2 separate regions of the Homo sapiens genome follow, and region 1 is linked to region 2. The links are contacts of gene promoters, found by promoter capture Hi-C in human tissues and cell types (Jung and others, 2019). All regions are on one chromosome and are shown on one strand. Each heading gives the region's core, a stretch centred on a gene start or on the middle of the fragment in contact. The rest is flanking DNA. Distances are from core to core; before and after follow the strand shown.

The links. Contacts are between HindIII fragments. The study calls those that stand out against the background at their distance.
Region 1: the fragment with the promoter of ZG16B here is called in contact with the fragment with the promoter of KREMEN2 in region 2 in 2 of the 25 tissues and cell types used here (lymphoblastoid cells and pancreas).

The regions. Positions count from the first base shown.
Region 1 is chr16:2,828,631-2,833,424 of GRCh38, forward strand. It overlaps ZG16B (zymogen granule protein 16B), which reads left to right and starts at 1,673. Exons shown (of 4, transcript NM_145252.3): 1 at 1,673-1,698; 2 at 1,785-1,863; 3 at 2,064-2,166; 4 at 3,166-3,646. The coding sequence starts at 1,812. The coding sequence ends at 3,529. The HindIII fragment of the contact is 17,999 bases long and covers 1-4,794 here.
Region 2 is chr16:2,962,635-2,967,256 of GRCh38, forward strand. It overlaps KREMEN2 (kringle containing transmembrane protein 2), which reads left to right and starts at 1,641. Exons shown (of 9, transcript NM_172229.3): 1 at 1,641-1,980; 2 at 2,225-2,399; 3 at 3,506-3,597; 4 at 3,691-3,815; 5 at 4,008-4,161; 6 at 4,276-4,608. The coding sequence starts at 1,887. RefSeq lists enhancers at 1-873, 360-489, 2,458-3,417, 3,020-3,139 and silencers at 570-649, 680-809, 1,360-1,439, 1,970-2,219, 2,290-2,659. The HindIII fragment of the contact is 31,540 bases long and covers 1-4,622 here.

The DNA of each region.
Region 1 (4,794 bases), core at 423-2,922, 130 kb before region 2:
CCCGATGAGACCGGCGTCCCCGTTCCTGGTGAGCCAGCACTTCCAGAGCCAGTCTGTGCATGCACAAAGCCCTTCTTTGCACCCATCTTCCTGGGAAGCATGTGGGGTCCACACACACTGGTCTTCCAGCCTGTTTCCCTGGGGGATGGGTGTGCAGTGGGAGTGTCCCCCACCCTCTCCACCCAAGTTTTCCACAGCCAGGGATCCACCACCCGGGCTCTCGGCATCTCCAGGTGGATGCGCCCGTGATTTCTCAGCTTTTGCTCTTTCCAAAAATTAGCGTTGTACACTCTCCCCCAAGGCATAAAGTCTAAGGCTCAGGGCAACCAGCCCTGGGGGCCTCCCCTCCAGGGAGGCCCTCACAGCACCCTCAGGGGGAGGTTCTGTTGTTATCCGCAGAACAGAGGCCCAGAGAGGTGAAGCAAGAGCCCGCAGATCCCAGCCCCGCTACGTCAGGAAGCCCGGCTGGACCCACGTCTGGCTCCAGGGTCCTGTGTTGGTGATCACAGCCCTGTGGCTGTTCCCAGCGGTCACAGGCCCTGAGGAGCTTCAGTCCCTGGAACACACACAAGAGGTGTCCTGAGGACACGCATGGAACTGCGCTTGAGCTGCAATCTGTCCCCTAGTTCCCGCCTCGCTTGGGCATCTGACGGCCTTTATCTCTTCTCCCCTGATCCTTATCCGACACCCCAACTCTTCTGCAGACTCCAGTTCCTTCCCAGTGCCCTGGGTCCTTCAGGGTCCTTGGGATGAGACATCTCCGAACACGAGCTTTTCTCAGCTGGCGTCTGAGGGTGATGGCGTTCTGCCCACAGGCATCCGCCTGCACAGGCCTCCCTGACAAGAGGGGCTGAGGGGGAAAGGAGTGAGACAGAAAACCAGCAGGGCCCCGGGGACCGAGCCCTGGAGAAGCGCCAGTTCCCGCCCAGATGAGGGCCGACACCTCGGAAGGACCGGCCTGGGGGGTCGCCCTCCCCAGGCCCTCTGCCTCCCATCGTGGCATGGACTGCACCTTTGGTGTCCTTCCCTCCCATGGCCTCTGAGTCCCTGAACACTGGCTCATACCTGCTCCACCCAGATACAGCACAGAGGAGAGACCCGGGCAGCCTCTAAGGGCAGTGCCTTGAGGGCCAGTGCCTGGTGCACCTGCCGCACAGGGCACAGGACACAAAGGGCTGGGTGATCCATTCAGGCTCTCTCAGGGCCCGCGTCGAGCTCGGCCTGGGTCCCAGGAAGGCTGCCAGGCACCAGGTGCTGCCTGAGTCCGAAGGAGGCCCTGACTCCAGGTCGCCCACGGCAGGAGTGGGCCCCACGGAGCTTCTGTGGACCCTTGACCCGCCACCCTCAGGTGGAAGCCATCAGGCTGCGCTGGATAAGCCAGCCTCTCCCCACCTCTGCCATTCAAGTCGGTGCCAGTGCTGACTGGAGAGATCCCAGAGATAACTGTGAAATGCCTGTCACTGTTCTCAGCTTCGTTTATGTAGGCTGCAGAGCCAAGACAGCAAATACTGCACATCCGGGAGCCTCCCCAAGGCCGGCCCTGGGCCTTCCCCCAGGAAGAGCCCCACGGCCAGCTCCTTCCTGTTCCCCTGGCGGCCCCTCGCTTCTTCCTTCTGGATGGGGGCCCAGGGGGCCCAGGAGAGTATAAAGGCGATGTGGAGGGTGCCCGGCACAACCAGACGCCCAGTCACAGGCGAGGTAAGGTGCTTGGCTCCATGGGTGGGGCCCGGCAAGGTCACACTGGCCCTTGCTTTGGAGTCAGGAGGCCTCTCTTCTTCCCACAGAGCCCTGGGATGCACCGGCCAGAGGCCATGCTGCTGCTGCTCACGCTTGCCCTCCTGGGGGGCCCCACCTGGGCAGGGAGTAAGTCAGTGGGGTCTGCCCTCAATCTCCCCTGCCTCCCTCCAGGAGAGCCAGGGACTCACCCGGCCCTTGTCCCAGACTAACTCTGGTCACAGAACCATCCTGTCTGCCTGGAGGGGTGGGGTCCCCTGTTCTGGCAGAGGTCACCCCCATATCACCGCATGGGGATTTTCTTCCCTTTGGGTCTCTCTTTTCTTCAGAGATGTATGGCCCTGGAGGAGGCAAGTATTTCAGCACCACTGAAGACTACGACCATGAAATCACAGGGCTGCGGGTGTCTGTAGGTCTTCTCCTGGTGAAAAGGTGAGTAGGGCTATGGTCATGGGCCCAGCGCCATGTCCCCTCCCATCCCACAGTTTCAGGAACTCAGGGCAGGGGGTAAGCACCCGTGGCCACTTTTGCCACACATGCCTGGCTACTGTCGATGCTTCCTGGCTCCCGCTGATGCTTCCTGGCTGGAGCGGAGACGGTCAGACCGTCCTCCCTACCTTCTCCCTTCAACCCAAGCTCAACTCAACCAAAAATGGCCCCTCTGTCCCCATGCCTGATAGGAAAGTCAGGGGAAAGTCTGTCCGATTACTGTCAAAGAAGACAGGAGGTAAGGGTCAGAGTGGACCACTGACTGAATATGAGTCGCAGAAGTGTTAGAGGCAGAAGTCCAGGGCCATTTCCTTAATATCGAAGTGTCTCTGCTGGAGGTCTGGGATGGATTTTTGCCCTGCATTTAGAAGTTCTGGGGTCCTGGGAGAGGGGAGAGAAGCCCAATAGCAGAGGAGACAGAGTGTGGGCGGGGCGAGCCGGAGGGGTGCATCCTGGGAGAGCACCAGGGTGAGGGAGGGGTGAAGATGAGCCCCGTCAGGGAAGCGCTGGCGAGTGTGGGAAGTCACCTGCCCCTCGGCCTGTGAGCTGCTCTGCTTGGAGTGACTAAGGCTCGGGAGGTCCAGGCTCGGCCAGAGGCAGCTCATATGTGGGCCACAGTGACGGCAGCTGGTGCCTTCTGGGTCACGGAGACCTGGCGCTGCACGCAGCTCTCCTCACCAGGATCTCAGTGACTCCTCCCAAAAGTCACACCCACTTTGCAGACGGGGAAACTGAGTCCGGAGAGGCTGGGTAACGAGCTCAAGATCACAGGGCCCAAAAGTGGTAGAATCAGGGTTGGTGACCAGTGAGTCTGTGTCAGGGACCCAAAGTCTGATGGTGCTGGACTCTCTGCATCCCGGGAAGGAGGATGGGGGCGCTGAGGACCCGGGATGTGCTGGGCCATCCCAGATCTGGACGTCCAAAGCTTTGCCTCTCTCCCAGTGTCCAGGTGAAACTTGGAGACTCCTGGGACGTGAAACTGGGAGCCTTAGGTGGGAATACCCAGGAAGTCACCCTGCAGCCAGGCGAATACATCACAAAAGTCTTTGTCGCCTTCCAAGCTTTCCTCCGGGGTATGGTCATGTACACCAGCAAGGACCGCTATTTCTATTTTGGGAAGCTTGATGGCCAGATCTCCTCTGCCTACCCCAGCCAAGAGGGGCAGGTGCTGGTGGGCATCTATGGCCAGTATCAACTCCTTGGCATCAAGAGCATTGGCTTTGAATGGAATTATCCACTAGAGGAGCCGACCACTGAGCCACCAGTTAATCTCACATACTCAGCAAACTCACCCGTGGGTCGCTAGGGTGGGGTATGGGGCCATCCGAGCTGAGGCCATCTGGGTGGTGGTGGCTGATGGTACTGGAGTAACTGAGTCGGGACGCTGAATCTGAATCCACCAATAAATAAAGGTTCTGCAGAATCAGTGCATCCAGGATTGGTCCTTGGATCTGGGGTACAACCAAAGCCTTCCCTGCTCCTTGGAGACAAAGTCCCCAGTGCTGCAGCCCAGTGAACTGAGATGAGGGGTAGGGCAAAGGTGACTCTGCCGAGGACAGAAAGAGAGCAGCACCACCCCCTCAGAGGTGCTGTGGATCTCTGTGCCAGTCCCACAATCTTTGAAGAGTCAGGCTTCAAGGCCGCCACTCCCCACTGTCCCTCACCCCAGGCCCACCCAGCGGGCCTCTGCTGGCCACTCAGTCCCGGGATTCTCTGAGTGCTCAAGGGGCCTCAGGGAAGCCACTCACTCATCCATTCACTCAGCAAACATTTGCCAAGGCCGTGTCCTCACCAGGCTCGCCTGGCACTGGGGGTATAAAGAAGAGGCCAGGTTTCAGCTGAGTGCGTATACACTGTGGTGGGGGCTGGTGCAGAGGCAGATAGTGGCAGTTCACTTTGCCATCTGCATGGATGGGGACACATGCAGGTCATTGTGCGTAGGCACCTGCCCAGAGGTGAGGTGAGAGGGATGTGCTTCAGGGAAGTCTTCCTAGAGGAGGCAATGTCTGAGCTAAGTCTTAAAGGATGAAGGACAATTGGCCAAGTGGAGACAAAGGGAGGAGGGGATTACAGGTTGAGGGCTCAACATGAGCAAAGACAGGAGATGCAGATGGCTGGGGTAATTTGTCACAGTAGCAACAGGAAATCAGTACAAGCCCTGGACCTGGCCCATTCTTCATGTCCCCTTCCCAAGCCTCCAAGCCCACATGGGCACTTGCCAAGATCAGAGCTCCAGGGGCCTCCAGGGACGGGGTTTTCAGTCCTTTGGGACCATGATCCACAGAGAGAAATTGATCCTACTTGAGACACAGGAAGCAACACATGTAATGCAACAGCCAAGCACCCAACGATCATCTAATGCAACAGCCAAACACCCAGCGATCATCTAATGCAACAGCCAAACACCCAGTGATCATCTAATGCAACAGCCAAACACCCAGCGATCATCTAATGCAACAGCCAAACACCCAGCGATCATCTAATGCAACAGCCAAACACCCAGTGATCATCTAATGCAACAGCCAAACACCCAGTGATCATCTAATGCAACAGCCAAACAGACAAGTGATC
Region 2 (4,622 bases), core at 391-2,890:
CCAAGCCGGCCCCCTTTCCGCACAGAGTCCTTAATTGTCCCTGTCGCCACCTTGCCCCATCCTCAGATGGCTGTGGCTGTGGGGGTGAAGCTCCCCACGCACCGCCATTGTGCAGGCCTGCCCCTAGGACATCCTCTGTGGACTGGAGCCCGGGAGGACTTCACTGAGCCCCCGCCAAGAGAAACCGGGCAGACAGGTGGTCCCGGATGCTCCCTCGTCGGGAAGCGCAGTTGGGTTCCAGGGAGCCCGTGGGTGCTGGAGGCCCCAGCTCAGGGCTCAGTGAGCCGGGCCAGCCTGGCCTCTGAGAGGGCTCCCGGAGGAGGCGACCAGGACCCTGGCCTAGAGTCTCAGCAAGTCCATCTCCTTCAAATGCCCCCACCTCGGCTCCACGCCCCTCCTCCAGAGCACACTCGCGTGAGGCGCCAGCTGGAAGATCCTCGCGGGTCCCAGCACCGCAGTGGGTGCCTGGGCCTGACAGAACCTCCCTGAACCCCATCTTTCTTCTCCATCGACACCGGGGCAGAGACGGTGTGGGGGCTGCAGGGCGGGGACTGGTCGGCCTGGGCTCGACAGCTTGGCGAGGGCCTGGTGCGGGCTGGGCAGGCTGGACTGAGGGGCAAAGAGGTCTGGGCGGGGCGGGGCCGCTCTGGGCGCCCGGCCCCCACCAGTTCCTTCCCCCGGCCCCCGCCTCCGCCCTCCCACGCACCTGCGCTGGCCTCCCCCCAAGCCCTGGGGGCAGCGGGCGGGTGGCGCTGGGAGATCAGAGGACTCGGAGGAGTCGGGCCCAGGGGGAGGGGGCGGGGAATTTCCCCCCACGCCTGCCTGGGCCTGCTCCCCTCCCCCTCCCCCGCCAGGTGGGGGGCACGGCTGGGGGAATTCCACTGCAGTGTGAAGGCTCGGGAGAGTCTGGGCTGGGGGTCCCAGGGAAGGGCGGGGCAGGGGGAGGAGGAGGGGACAGACTGGGACCTGGGGCGCAGCTGCCTTTCTCCCCAGACACCAGCTGCCCCTGCCTGTCCCGGACTGAGCGTCCACGACTCCCGCCTGTCTCGTGGGCGCGGGGGCAGGGAGTGGAGCTTCCTCCGTCAGGCCAGCGGCATCTGGACCAGGGGCGGGAGGGGCGTGCGGATCCGAAGAAAGTGTGCGCGTGAGCGCCTGGCAATGAATGGGAGAGAGTGCGAGCGCGTGCGTGCACTGGGAGGAGGGCGCTTGTAACTCGGACATTCCGGGTGTCCTGGGGCGCGTGCGACCACGTGAGGGGGTTCTGTATCTCCCATTTTAAGGGCCTTCCGTCCGCTTGCCCCGCCTGTCCCCCTCCACACCTTCCCACTTGAACCGGCACCGACCTGAGGGAGAGGGGGCCGGGAAGCGCTGGACGCCCGGGGTCGGGGGAACGGGCGTGGGAGGCGTCTGGACCTGCTGCCTCCGCTCCAGTGCTGGGCGGGGCTTCCCGGCCTCCCATGGGGGGAGGGAGAGACCCAGGGGGAGGGACCCACGGAGGGATGCGAGGCGGGCAGGAGTCAGCCCGTTGGAGACCTGGGCGAGGGAGACGCCGAGAGCTAGGCTCAGTGGGAGGGGGCGGGCGTAGAGGCTGAGGCACCGCCCAGAGCTCGCTGAGACAGAGACTGAGAACGCCCCCGGCCAGATTCCCCCCGGAGAGACCCGGGTAGGGACAGGGACAGAGAGACGCCTCTAGGGGCAGAGGCCCTGGGAGGCAAAGACCCCCAGGAGAGATTTACCCACCCCAGACGGAAAGCGCGGCTCAGAGTCGGACGAGGGGAGACTGTCAGAGGACAACGCCCCCTAGGTCTCCTGGGAGACCCCGAAGCGACCCCGGGGGCAGCCCGGGCCGTGTCCGGGCGAGGGTGACCTATCCTTGGTTGAGAGCGATGGGGACACAAGCCCTGCAGGGCTTCCTCTTTCTCCTCTTCCTCCCGCTGCTGCAGCCGCGTGGGGCCTCGGCTGGGAGCCTGCACAGTCCAGGTAAGTCCCCGCACGGCTGTCGGGCCGTGTTCACCACCCCTTCCTCGGCCTCCGCCCCCAGGGCCAGGCCCCCAAGGCTAGGGAGGGGGACAGAGCAGGTGGCCGGAGCAGCTGAGCAGCCCGAGGGCTCCTGCAGGGGCGGGTGCGGGGTCGCTGGCTGGGGACCCAGGCGGGAGGTGGCGTAGGGGCGCGAGGATGCCCGGCGTGGGTCCGGACCTCCCCAGGCCCTGCCTTTGCCGTGCAGGCCTGTCCGAATGCTTCCAGGTGAATGGGGCTGACTACCGCGGCCACCAGAACCGCACTGGCCCGCGCGGGGCGGGCCGCCCGTGCCTCTTCTGGGACCAGACGCAGCAACACAGCTACAGCAGCGCCAGCGACCCCCACGGCCGCTGGGGGCTGGGCGCGCACAACTTCTGCCGGTGAGGGGCGGGGCCTGCGCTGGGGGCGAGGCTGGGCTCACCATTGCAGGGATGGCCCGAAGCGGGGCCTCCGTGCGGGCGGGGTGGAGGTCTGCCGTGGACTGGCAGCCCAGCCTCCTGGAGAACCTGGGGGCGGGGCCAGAATGAGGGGCGGGGCGGGGCGGGGCGGGGCGCGCGGAACCCTGGCGCAAAAGGGATCCTCCTCAGGTGAACAATTTCTGCAGAGCTCCAGTTCAGGGCCAGGAGAGAAACGGACCTGGGCACTCAAAGGACCCGTATGGGCGGGGCCTGGTCAGAGCGGGGGCCGAATGGGCGGGGCCTTGTCAGAGTGGGGCTCTTGTCATACAACTTATTTTGGGGTTCAGAGCCACAGCTACGGTCTGAGGCAGGATGGACCCAGCGGGAGGAGAGCCGCAAAGCTCAGGAGCTCACTTCTGCTTTTAAGTGGGGTTGGAGGCCAGGCGCGGTGGCTCAGCCTGTAATCCCAGCACTTTGGGAGGCCAAGGCAGGCGGATCATCTGAGGTCAGGAGTTCGAGACCAGCCTGGCTACCATGGTGAAACCCCATTTCTACTAAAAATACAAAAAATTAGCGGGGCATGGTGGCGGGCGCCTGTAATCCCAGCTACTCAGGAGGCTGAGGCAGGAGAATCGCTTGAACCCGGGAGGCGGAGCTTGCAGTGAGCAGAGATCGCGCCAATGCACTCTAGCCTGGGTGACAGAGCGAGACTCGTCTCAAAAAAAAAAAAAAAAAGTGGGGTTTGAGGGACGGAAGTGGCTGAGGCCCATGCCGGGTGGGGGTGAAGAATACAGATGGCCTCAAAGTCCTCATATATGGAGTCAAGTCTAGCAACAGCTGAAGCCTAAAAACAGCTCTCAAGTCCCCTTTAATGACTTCCCGCTGTCCACTCGGAAGTCGACGTCCAGTTCCTTCATCAGGCAGAGTTCTGCGTAGACAAAACTGGAATTTGTGGGTGTACAGCAGGCAGCACAGCCGCTCACAGGCACAGAGCCTTGAAGGCCACTTTGAGCATAGGCTGCGGGGCCGGGCCTGGGTTTGCTATTCTTGGGGTGGTGGGAGCCCCACCACCTCCCTCCCACCCGCAGTAACCCAGACGGTGACGTGCAGCCGTGGTGCTACGTGGCTGAGACAGAGGAGGGCATCTACTGGCGCTACTGCGACATCCCCTCCTGTCACAGTGAGTAGCGCGGCTGGACAGAGGTGGGAACGCTGCTGCATCTGGGAGGAGGGTTGTTTTCGGAGTCACGGAAGTCTGACTCTGCCCCCTCAGTGCCAGGCTACCTGGGATGCTTTGTGGACTCAGGGGCACCCCCAGCCCTCAGCGGCCCCAGCGGCACCTCCACGAAGCTCACGGTCCAGGTGTGCCTACGCTTCTGCCGCATGAAGGGGTACCAGGTACTGCTCACGGGCCCAGACCAGTGACCCCTGACCTGGACCTAAAGACCACACTCAACTCCCAACACTCGGTTGCCAAACCCAGACACCGGTTTCTGAACCTCCAGCCCGATTCCCACCCCGACCCCAGGCCCCCACCACTTCACCCCTACCCCAGCCCCTGCCCTGGGGTCACCCAGTCTGTGCTCCCAGCTGGCGGGCGTGGAGGCCGGTTACGCCTGCTTCTGTGGCTCTGAAAGCGACCTGGCCCGGGGACGCCTGGCCCCCGCCACCGACTGTGACCAGATCTGTTTCGGCCACCCTGGACAGCTGTGTGGCGGCGATGGGCGGCTGGGCGTCTATGAAGGTGAGGAGTGGGCGGGGACCAGGGGCCTGGGCGGGCCTCGAGGTGGGGCCTGGCCGGGCAGGGGAGCCGCCGTGTCCTGGTCCTCAGGATGCTGACTGCCGGCCCCGCCCGCAGTGTCGGTGGGCTCCTGCCAGGGGAACTGGACAGCGCCTCAGGGCGTCATCTACTCCCCGGACTTCCCGGACGAGTACGGGCCGGACCGGAACTGCAGCTGGGCCCTGGGCCCGCCAGGCGCCGCGCTGGAGCTCACCTTCCGCCTCTTCGAGCTGGCCGACCCGCGCGACCGGCTGGAGCTGCGCGACGCGGCTTCGGGCAGCCTGCTCCGCGCCTTCGATGGCGCCCGCCCACCGCCGTCCGGGCCGCTGCGCCTGGGCACTGCCGCGCTGCTGCTCACCTTCCGAAGCGACGCGCGCGGCCACGCGCAAGGCTTCGCGCTCACCTACCGCGGTGAGCCTCAGCTC